2 separate regions of the Homo sapiens genome follow, and region 1 is linked to region 2. Evidence: promoter capture Hi-C in human tissues and cell types (Jung and others, 2019). All regions are on one chromosome and are shown on one strand. The core of a region is centred on a gene start or on the middle of the fragment in contact, and the rest is flanking DNA. Distances in the headings are between cores, read along the strand shown. Region 1 holds the start of DOHH (deoxyhypusine hydroxylase). Region 2 holds the start of CELF5 (CUGBP Elav-like family member 5).

Region 1 (5,076 bases), core at 1,772-4,271, 280 kb after region 2:
TCTTGTTCTGTCGCCAGGCTGGAGTACGGCAGCATGATCACGGCTCACTGTAGCCTCGAACTCCCAGTCTCAAGTGATCCTCCTGCCTCAGACTTCCTAGTGGCTGTGTCTACAGGCACACACCAGCATGCCCAGCTAATTTTTTTTTTATTATTTGTAGAGATGGGGTCTCACTTCTATGTTGCCCAGGCTGGTCTCCAACTCCCAAGCTCAAGTGATCATCCTGCCTCAGCCTCCCAAAGCATTAGGATTACAGGCATCAGCCACTACCCCCAGCCATTATGGGGATTTTTGTTACACAGCTTAGATAACAGATTCAGAAGTACTTTCAATATGTAAACTGGACCATATCACTCCCTTGCTTAAAATCCTCCTATGCCTCCTCACTCAACTACTTGACAGTCCCAAAGGCCCTTCATGACCATCTCCCATCACCTCTTCCCTCTCTAGCTCCACTCCAGCCACACAGGCCTCCTCGCTGTTCCTCCAACACGCCAGGCCCAGTGCAGCCCTAGGGCCTTTGCATTTGCTGTGATCTCCATGAGGAACATTCTTCCCTAGATGTCCCCACGTAGCAGGCCAGGCCTCACTAACACAGGCCTCCATAACTGTTTCAGCACTGACTGAGTGGTTAAGTTAAACATTAAAAGCTAAAAGAGCCAGTGCCCTCATACAAAGGCTGGAATGTAACAAAAGCCCATGAAGAGTTTTGCCCAGGCCTTTCCTGGGCCTTAAGGCATGACAAGATAATGAAGGAATTTTTTTTTTTTTGAGACAGAGTTTCGCTCTTTTGCCCAGGCTGGAGTGTAGTGGCATTATCTCGGCTCACCACAACCTATGCTTCCAGGGTTCAAGTGATTCTCCTGCCTCAGCCTCCCGAGTATCTGGGATTATAGGCATGCACCACCATGCCCGGCTAATTTTGTATTTTTAGTAGAGACAGGGTTTCTCCATGTTGGTCAGGCTGGTCTCGAACTCCCAACCTCAGGTGATCCACCCGCCTCAGCCTCCCAAACTGCTGGAATTACAGGCTTGAGCCACCACACCCAGCCAATAACGAAGGAATTCTTAATGTGACCCGTTTAGGATGAAACAAGTTTTACTGGGTGTCTGAAGAACTCCCCAAACCTCCATGATTTAGCAGGAGACAAGATAAGGATGATCACCCCAGCACCTGGACCCACTGGAGATGAGATAAGGGTGATCACCCCAGCACCTGGACCCATTTAGATTAAGTAAATTTACTGAGGTTCCAAAGGAAAGTCTTCAGGATTCAGATCTTAGTTATAGATTAAAAGAAGTTAGTCACTTTAAGTCTTTAGATGGATGCTCAGTTACATGTAGATGGAGAGCTTAGAGGGTATATAAGCTCTGGAAAACTTTGTCATTTTGAGTTGGTCTGGCGATATTTTCCAGGCCTTCTCCCTGTAACCGGTTACAGAAATAAAAACTCTCTTCCTCCCCAGTTAATCTGCATCTCGTTATTGGACCATGAGAAATAGCAGCCCGACCCTCAGTTTGGTCCAGGAACACCCGTGCTCATCCTCTTGCTTTCCTGGGTCTCCAACATCACTTCCTCATGGAAGCCTTCCCTGATCACAATGGACAATGTTACTCTTCCATCTCTTTTCACTTATTCAGCTTTATTTTTCTCCACGGCGCCTAAGACTCCTAGATATCATATTGGAAAGTATTGGTTTAGTTGCTTGTGATTGGTCTTATCCCTCATTAGAATAGAACTCTGAAGGCTGGGACTGAGTCTATCTTGGTCACTGTTGTATTCCCAGCACTTAGTGCAATGACCTGCACGCAGTAGGGCCTCAATAAAAACAATAACCGGCTGGGCGCGGTGGCTCACGCCTGTAATCCCAGCGCTTTGGGAGGCCGAGGTGGACAGACCATCTGAGTTCAGGAGTTCGAGACCAGCTGACCAACATGGTGAAACCCCATCTCTACTAAAAATACAAAAATTAGCTGGGCGTGGTGGTGGGCGCCTGTAATCCCAGCTACTCGGGAGGCTGAGGTAGGAGAATCGCCTGAACTCGAGAGGCGGAGGTTGCAGTGAGCCGAGATCGTGCCATTGCATTCCAGACTGAGCTACAAAGCAAGACCCTGTCTCAAAATAAATAAATAAAATAAAAACGACAACCGTGACAATAGCAGCTGACACTTATGTAGCATTTGCTACGCGCCAGGCACTCCATGCTCTTTACATTCATTAATTCATTCGATCTACATCACTACCCTGTGAGGTAGTTACTAAGATTGTCCCCATTTTACAGGTGAGGAAACTGAGGCACAGTTTGGGACTGTGCTTGGGAACTTGCTTGGGAGCAGCGTGAAGAGTTAGGAATCCAGGAAGTCTGGCTCCAGAGTCGGGCTCTAAACCACCAACGCTTTGTTGAATGACTTAGGATAAAAGAACACAGCCAAGGGGAGAAGGGACCCCTCTCTTTCCAGATCGGCTGAGAACCTGGCGGATGCTTCATCTCAAGACAGGCTGGCTATGGCATGCTGGCAGCCCTCTCTGGTGAACAGTGGCGTCAGCAAGGCTGCCTGGGCTTGACGAGGGCAGTGTAGCCACCTAAGCACAGGTGACCATCAAAGGAGAGTGACACCTTTAAAGAGGGGTCATCAGAAACCAGAGGGCAGGCCTGTGCGAGCTGGCAGGGCACTGGGGACCATTGAGACCCAACCGTACGACATAGGAGCTTCAGGACGTGAGGTGGGCACTCTTTCATGTAAAAAATCCCAGAGGAAAGAGATCGCCGGGACTCGAGACCCCTTAACCCGCCCCATCCACAGTCAACGAATCCCTGAGACCGGATTCCCTAACGAGGCGCTCCCGGTGCCACCGCCCGCCAGACCCGGGCCCCACACCGTGATCGCCGCCTCCGGGACGCCTCACCGAGCTCTGGAGACTCAGGACCCGTCGGCCCGGCCAGTAACCGCAGGCGCCTCTGCCACCACCGCTTCACCTGCCGCGACGCCCGCAGTGCGGTCTGGGGGCCGCCATTTTCTCGCCCACGTGACCGTGCCGGACGGCACCAACGCAGCCGCGGGTGAGACCTAGTGAGAGGCTCCGTGCATGAGGGAGGCCCGGAAGGCTGAGTCGGTGCTGGTGCCACAGCTCATGCAAACGCAGGAACAGTATTCCTAGTGCGTTCTTCGGGGAAGGGGACGGGCAACGTATGCCCTTTCATGGGAAAAAATTCTCTCCAACCTCCCCACTGCGGTACAAGAAGTGAGACTGGTTTGTGCCGATTCAGCGCCCTGCCTGGGCTGGCTAGCAACGGAGCATGCGCAGTGTTTCTAGGCGTGGTCAGACTCCAGAGGTGTTGGCCAATGGGCTCAGGGAGCTCGAACCTTAAGTAGGTGAGGAATAAAAAAAGGAAGAAATGCAGTCGTTCATTCATTCATGTATGTAATAAATAGTACATGGCCTTGAGGACAAGAGAGCCTTCAGCCCTTACCCTCGTACGCCTCCCAGTGTTGTTATAGAGACAGAAAATAACACGATAAGTAAATGCAATACCTATTAGATGGTGAAAAAGGCTAACGAGAAAAAATTCGGTAGCCAAGGGCGGTGTATGTATAGGGTGTGCAGTTTCAGGAAGGGTGGCCAGAATCTGAGGTGGTGACATCTGAAGAAAGACCTGAAAGAGGCCGGGTACGGTGGCTCACACCGGTAATCCCAACACTTTGGGAGGCCGAGGTGGGTGTTATCACTTGAGGTCAGGAGTTCGAGACCAGCCTGGCCAACATGGTGAAACCCCCATCTCTACTAAAAATACAAAAAGGCTTCAGCTTCCCGAGTAGCTGGGATTACAGGCATGCAACACCACACCAGCTAACTTTTTGTATTTTTAGTAGAGACAGGGTTTCACTATGTTGGCCAGGCTGGTCTCAAACTCCTGACCTCAGGTGATCCACCTGCCTTGGCCTCCCAAAGTGCTGGGATTACAGGCGTGAGCTACTGTGCCCTGCTTGCAATCTCTTATTTTTAAAATGTGGGTGACTGCCAGGAGTGGTGGCTCATACCTGTAATCCTGGCACTTTGGGAGGCTGTGGGGTGAGAGGATGATCGATTGAGCCCAAGATTCCAAGACCAGCCTGGGCAATGTGGTAAGCCCCCGTCTCAACAGAAAAAAAATTTTTTTTAATTTGGCTGGGCGCAGTGGCTCAGCCTGTAATCCCAGCTACTTGGGTGGCTGAGGCAGGAGAATCGCTTGAGCCTGGGAGACACAGGTTACAGTGAGTTGAGATCCTGTCACTGCACTCCAGCCTGGGCAACAGAGCAAGACTCCATTTCCAAAAAAAAAAAAAAAAAATCAACTGTGCCTGGTGGCTCATGCCTGTAGGCCCAGCTACTCAGGTGGCTTGATAGCTTGAGTCCAGGAGTTCAAGGATCCAGTGAGCTGTAATCACACCACTGGATTCCAGCCTGGGTGACAGAGCAAGACCCCATCTCAAAAAAAAAAAAAAAATGAGCAATTAATAAAAAAACATGGCTGGGCATTGTAGCTCACGCCTGTAATTCCAGCACTTTGGGAGGCCAAGGCAGGTGGATCACTTGTGGTCAGGAGTTCAAGACCAGCATGGCCAACATGCTGAAACCCCATCTCTACTAAAAATACTAAAATTAGCTTGGCCTAGTGGCGGGTGCCTGTAATTCCAGCTACTCAGGAGTCTGAGGCAGGAGCATCACTTGAACCCAGGAGACGGAAGTTGCAGTGAGCCAAGATCGCGTCACTGCACTCCAGCTTGGGTGACAGAGTGAGACTCCATCTCAAAAAAATAATTAAATAAAAATTAATGAAAAAACATAAAATGCTGTGCATAGCAAAGAAATCCTTTTGGAAGGCCAACTTCTATTTTAAGACAACATTCACAAATACTTATTGAGCAACTACTGTGTGCTGGACAGTGTCCTGAGCACAGAGGATAGTGTCCTGGGCACAGAGGACACAGGACAAAACAGACACAGTGTCTGGCCTCATGGAGCTGACACCCCCACTTTTATTTTTTTGAGACAGAGTCTCGCTCTGTCACCCAGGCTGGAGTGCAATGGGGCGA
Region 2 (5,396 bases), core at 2,163-4,662:
CCACGCTGGCCAGGATGGTCTCGAACTCCTGACCTCAGATCATCTGCCAGCCTTGGCCTCCCCAAGTGCTGGGATTACAGGTGTGAGTCACCGTGCCCGGTCCCTCTCCTCTCTCTTTAGTCCTGCTTGGCAAATAAGGAAACTGGGGCTCAGCTGCCTGATGTGTGGGGAGATGGTATGGGATGGTGGGAAGTGTGTGTGCTCCAGAGTCTGGCTTCCTGGGTTTACATCCCAGCTCTCTTACCGTGTGGTCTTGCACCAGCCACTGGAGCTCTCTGGGCCTCAGTTCCCCCTCTAACGCGGGTGGACATTTCATACAAATGGCGTCACACGCTGTGTGGTCTTCTGTGTTTGACATCTTTCACCAAGCATGATGTGCTCAAGGTATGGCTTGGGTCAGAGCCTCATTTTTTTTTTCATGGCTGAGTCGTGTTCCATTGGCTGGATGGAGCACAAAATGTCCTCTAAAGCCAGGCATGGTGGCTCACACTTGTCATCCCAGCACTTTGAGAGGCTGAGGCGGGAGGATTGCTTGAGCCCAGAAGTTTGCGTACAGCCTGGACAACATAGCAAGACTCCATTTCTACAAAAAATTTAAAAATTAGCCAGGCATGGTGGCATGGACATCTGTGGTCCCAGCTACTCTGGAGGCTGAGGCAGGAGGATCGCTTGAGCCCAAGAGGTCAAGGCTGCAGCAAGCTATGATCATGCCACTGCACTCCAGCCTGGGTGACAGAGCGATACCCTGCCTTATAAATAAATAAATAAATAAAATTGTAAATTAGCCAGGTGTGGTGGTGGGAGCCTGTAATCCCAGCTACTCAGGAGGCTGAGGCATGAGAATCACTTGAACCCAGGAGGTGGAAGTTGCAGTGAGCCGAGATTGCACCACTGCACTCCAGCCTGGGCGACAGCAAGAGCCTGTCTCAAAAAATAAATAAAATAAGAATTAAAAATTAAATTTTAGGCTGGGCGCAGTAGCTCATGCCTGTAATCCCAGCACTTTGGGAGGCTGAGGTGGGCAGATCACCTAAGGTCAGGAGTTCGACACCAGCCTGGCCAACATGGTGAAACCCATCTCTACTAAAAATACAAAAATTAGCCAGGTGTGGTGGCACATGCCTGTAATCCCAGCTACACTGGAGACTGAGACAGGAGAATTGCTTGAACCCGGGAGGCAGAGGTTGCAGTGAGCCGAGATAATGCCACTGCACTCCAGCCTGGGTGACACAGCGAGACTCTGTCTCAATAATAAATAAATAAATAAATAAGTACGTTAATAAAATTTTACACTATTTGGGTGTGGTGGGGTGCAACTGTAATCCCAGCTACTCAGGTGGCTGAGGCAGGAGAATCATTTGAACCTGGTAGGTGGAGGTTGCAGTAAGCCAAGATCACACCATTGCACTTCAGCCTGGGCGACAGAGAGAGACTCCATCTCGAAAAAAATAAAAATAAAAATGAAAATAAAATTTTAAATGGGTGTAACTCTGTGGAGGGAAAAAGAAGGCTGAGAAAGGAGATAATGGTGACTGAGCGGTTTTAGATAAGGTAGATGGGGAAAGTGATGGGGAATTAAGGAATGAGCCACACATCATCTGGGGAGAGCACATCCCAGACAAAGGGTACAGCCCGTGCAAAGGCCCTGAGGCAGGACCGCACCTGACAAGTGAGAGGAACAGCGAGGAGGCCTGTGTAGCTGCAGCAGTGAGGAGGGGGAGAGAGGGAGCAGGGGAAGGTGGGGACAAGGCAGAACAGGACACGCAGAGCCTTGTGGGCCTCAAGAAGGACTTGGGCTTTAATTATGGGACATCTTTGGGAAGTGTTTTTTTTTTTTTTTTTTTTGAGACAAGATTTCATTCTGTCGCCTAGACCAGAGGCAGTGGTGCGATCCTGGTTCACTGCAGCTTTAATATCCCAGGGATCAACCGATGCTCCCACCGCAGCCTCCGAGTAGCTGGGACCAACGGTGCACACCAACCACTCCTGGCTGATTTTTTTTTTTTTTTTTCTCAAACAGAGTTTCACTCTTGTTGCCCAGGCTGGAGTGCAATGGCGCAATCTCGGCTCACTGCAATCTCCGCCTCCCGGGTTCAAGCGATTTTCCTGCCTCAGCCTCCTGAGTAGCTGGGATTACAGGCATGCACAACCATGCCTGGCTAATTTTTGTGTTTTTAGTAGAGACAGAGTTTTCTCCATGTTGATCAGGCTGGTCTCGAACTCCTGATCTCAGGTGATCCACCTGCCTCAGCCTCCCAAAGTGCTGGGATTACAGGTGTGAGCCATCGTGCCTGGCCTGTTTTCTTATTTTTTACAGCAATGGCGTCTCACTATGTTGCTCAGGCTGGTCTCCAACTCCTGGGCTCAAGTGGTCCTCCTGACTCTGCTTCTCAAAGTGCTGGGATTACAGGTGTGAGCCACCACGGCCAGCACGTATTATTATTTTTATTAATATTATTGATGAGTTTCATACGTAAAGGATCACGGGCACTTTAGAGCTGGGAGATACTTCAGTATTTCTCCTATCCTGTCATTATCAGTGCGAGCCAGTCTCCCTCCTTGTTGATGACATTATTGATGAGTTACATACTTAAAGGGCCAAGGACACTTTCTATGTGTAAGCACCCTATAGAACTGGAAGATACTTTTACCATTTCTCCTGTGCTGTCGTGATTAGTGGGAGCACTTTGTCTTGCTCTTGATTAATTATTATTAGTGTTGTTATTATTAGGTGTTTTTTTTTTTTTTTTTTACCAAGACGGAGTTTTGCTCTTGTTGCCCAGGCTGGAGTACAATGGCACAATCTTGGCTCACTGCAACCTCCGCCTCCTGGGTTCAAGTGATTATCCTGCCTCAGCCTCCCGAGTAGCTGGGATTACAGGCACCCCCCGCCACCGAGCCCAGCTAATTTTTGTATTCTTTAGTAGAGACGGGGTTTCACCGTGTTAGCCAGTCTGGTCTCGAACTCCTGACCTCAAGTGATCCACCCACCTCGGCCTCCCAAAGTGCTGAGATGACAGGCGTGAGCCACCGCGCCCAGCCATATTATTAGTGTTATTAATATTATTGATGAGTTACCTACTTTAAGGATCACGGGCGCTTTCAACGACAAGCCCCCTACATTATCCCAGCAACTTTTGACATTCTTCCGGCCGATGCCCTCCGCGGGAGCCGGCGGGGACCCCTGGGAAGCCGGCTAAGGCCCGTCCCGCCCGCAGCTCCGCCCTCGCCCACCCGTAGGCGGGGCCCGGGGCCTTCCGGCCTCAGTTTCCCCCCGCGGCCCGGGGATGCGGGGAGGCGCCGGCTGCCCCGCGCGGCGCGGCCGCCAGGGGCCGCTGCGGAGCCGCCTTTGTGGTCCCGATGCCGGGGCGGGCGCGGGCGGGAGGAGGGCGCGGGGGCCCGGGAGGGAGGCGGGAGGCGCGGCCGCCGCTCCAGCTGCGAGTCCGCCCGCCGCCCGCCGCCGCCGCCGCCGGCTCGGTCCCGCGCCCGCCATGGCCCGCCTGACGGAGAGCGAGGCGCGCCGGCAGCAGCAGCAGCTCCTGCAGCCGCGGCCCTCGCCCGTGGGCAGCAGCGGGCCCGAGCCCCCCGGGGGGCAGCCCGACGGCATGAAGGACCTGGACGCCATCAAACTCTTCGTGGGCCAGATCCCGCGGCACCTGGACGAGAAGGACCTCAAGCCGCTCTTCGAGCAGTTCGGCCGCATCTACGAGCTCACGGTGCTCAAAGACCCCTACACGGGGATGCACAAAGGTGGGCGCCCGGCCCCCTCCCCCCTCTCCCCCTCCCTCCGCCTCCCACCCCACCTTCCGGCATCTTCTCTCCCCCATCACCATCCCTCCTCTGCTCACCTCCCTCCTCTGCCTGCCTCTGCCGGAGCATCGGTTCTTACCCCCTCCCTCCCACCCACCCCTCCTCCCCTCTCTGGGGGTGCAGCTGACAGATCCGAGCGGGCCCCCTCCCCTCCTCCGCCCCCTCTCCCTCCCTCCCCACCTTCCGGCATCTCCTCTCTCTCTCCCTCTCTCTCTCCCTCTCTCTCTCCCTTTCTCTTCTCTCCCATCTCCCTCGACCTCTCATCCTTCCCCCCACAGCACCCTCTCTCTCCCTCCCTCCCTCCCTCACCCTTCCATCCCCCAGACCCCCACCCCTTCCTCCCTCCCTCACCCCACTCTTTCCTGCCCGTTTGCCAGGGGAGCCTCGGGAACGCCGGCACCCCTCCCTGCCCCCCCACCCCCATTCATTCAGCCTCCCCAGGCCCCGTCGGGGAAGTTTGCACCTGCGGACTCCATTGCTTTGGTTATTTTCACAAAGCCAGGCCGGCGGGGCAGGTCCGGCCGCGGGGGACACGGATGCCCAGGACCCCAGGCTAATCGGTAACTACAAAGGAAGACGGGTTGGGGGCGCCCGGCTCGGGGGGACGCGCCCGCCTCGCCTGCCTCGGGTGGCGGAGAGGCTCCCGTCGCTGCCCACCCCCTGGCCCCACCACCTCCGCGTGGATCAGCATTCTCTCCTCCATTTCTCTGCCCTCCCCCTCCCCCGCCTCCACCTTGGGCTCAAGTTGAAACTGGCCGAGCCTCTTAGCAATGTGTTGGGGTCTCAGGCCCAAGACAATGAGCTTGGACGTGTCCATCTGGGCAGAGCCCAAATTCTGGGGTGGACAGGGAGGAGGAGGGAGGCGTGGGCGGCCTCAGGCCTGTCTGCCTCCCTCCCACTGGATTCTCCCTCCGATGGCATCCCGGGTGGGGGTGTCCGGCAATTGTATCCCCAGCCCTTGGTTCCCATCATGGGCCCAGCGTCTGAATTGGGGTGGCTTTGACAGCCTTCCGGTCAGGTGTTGGGGACTGGGGGTGCCACTTCAAAGGCCTTGTGCTGGACACCCCCGGCCCTCCCCCTCCCATCCTCCAGGAAGACCCTGGAGAGGCCTTGGGGAAGGACCGGGGCCCATGACCTATTTTACACCCACTTTTTCCCCAGCGCTGCGTGCCCGGTAAGCATGAATGCATGTTTATTGAATGAATGAATTGAATGAATGAATGAATGAATGAATGAATGAATGAAGGGGTTCAAGAAGGCCCTAGGGAGGGTCTGGTGAGATGGGGCCCAGGCCTGTCACTTCAGCTAGACCCTCCAGCTGGTTATCTTGAGGGAGGAAAGAAACCCCTCCCCATTCCCCATCTCTTTTCAAAACCAACCATCACACACACACACACACACACACACACACACACACAAAATTGGGCCTGAAAAATCTAACTCCTCCATGTGGCCTAGGAGGGCAGAGGGGCTCCCATGCGGCCCCCATAAGTCAATATCTGGAGTCCAGAGGTGATAGGTGGGCTTTTCCCACACGCCCCCACCCCTGGGTACACCCAAAGCACCCATTTCTAGAAAGATTCCCG

The links. Contacts are between HindIII fragments. The study calls those that stand out against the background at their distance.
Region 1: a contact is called between the fragment with the promoter of DOHH here and the fragment with the promoter of CELF5 in region 2, in 5 of the 25 tissues and cell types used here (IMR-90 fibroblasts, dorsolateral prefrontal cortex, lymphoblastoid cells and 2 more).

What each region holds. Positions count from the first base shown.
Region 1 is chr19:3,497,653-3,502,728 of GRCh38, forward strand. It overlaps DOHH (deoxyhypusine hydroxylase), which reads right to left and starts at 3,022. Exons shown (of 5, transcript NM_001145165.2): 1 at 2,909-3,022. It overlaps LOC105372245 (a long non-coding RNA gene), which reads left to right. Exons shown (of 4, transcript XR_936262.3): 4 at 2,283-3,399. RefSeq lists an enhancer at 3,024-3,133. The HindIII fragment of the contact is 49,740 bases long and covers 1-5,076 here.
Region 2 is chr19:3,221,249-3,226,644 of GRCh38, forward strand. It overlaps CELF5 (CUGBP Elav-like family member 5), which reads left to right and starts at 3,413. Exons shown (of 13, transcript NM_021938.4): 1 at 3,413-3,750. The coding sequence starts at 3,492. RefSeq lists a silencer at 3,234-3,353. The HindIII fragment of the contact is 19,492 bases long and covers 1-5,396 here.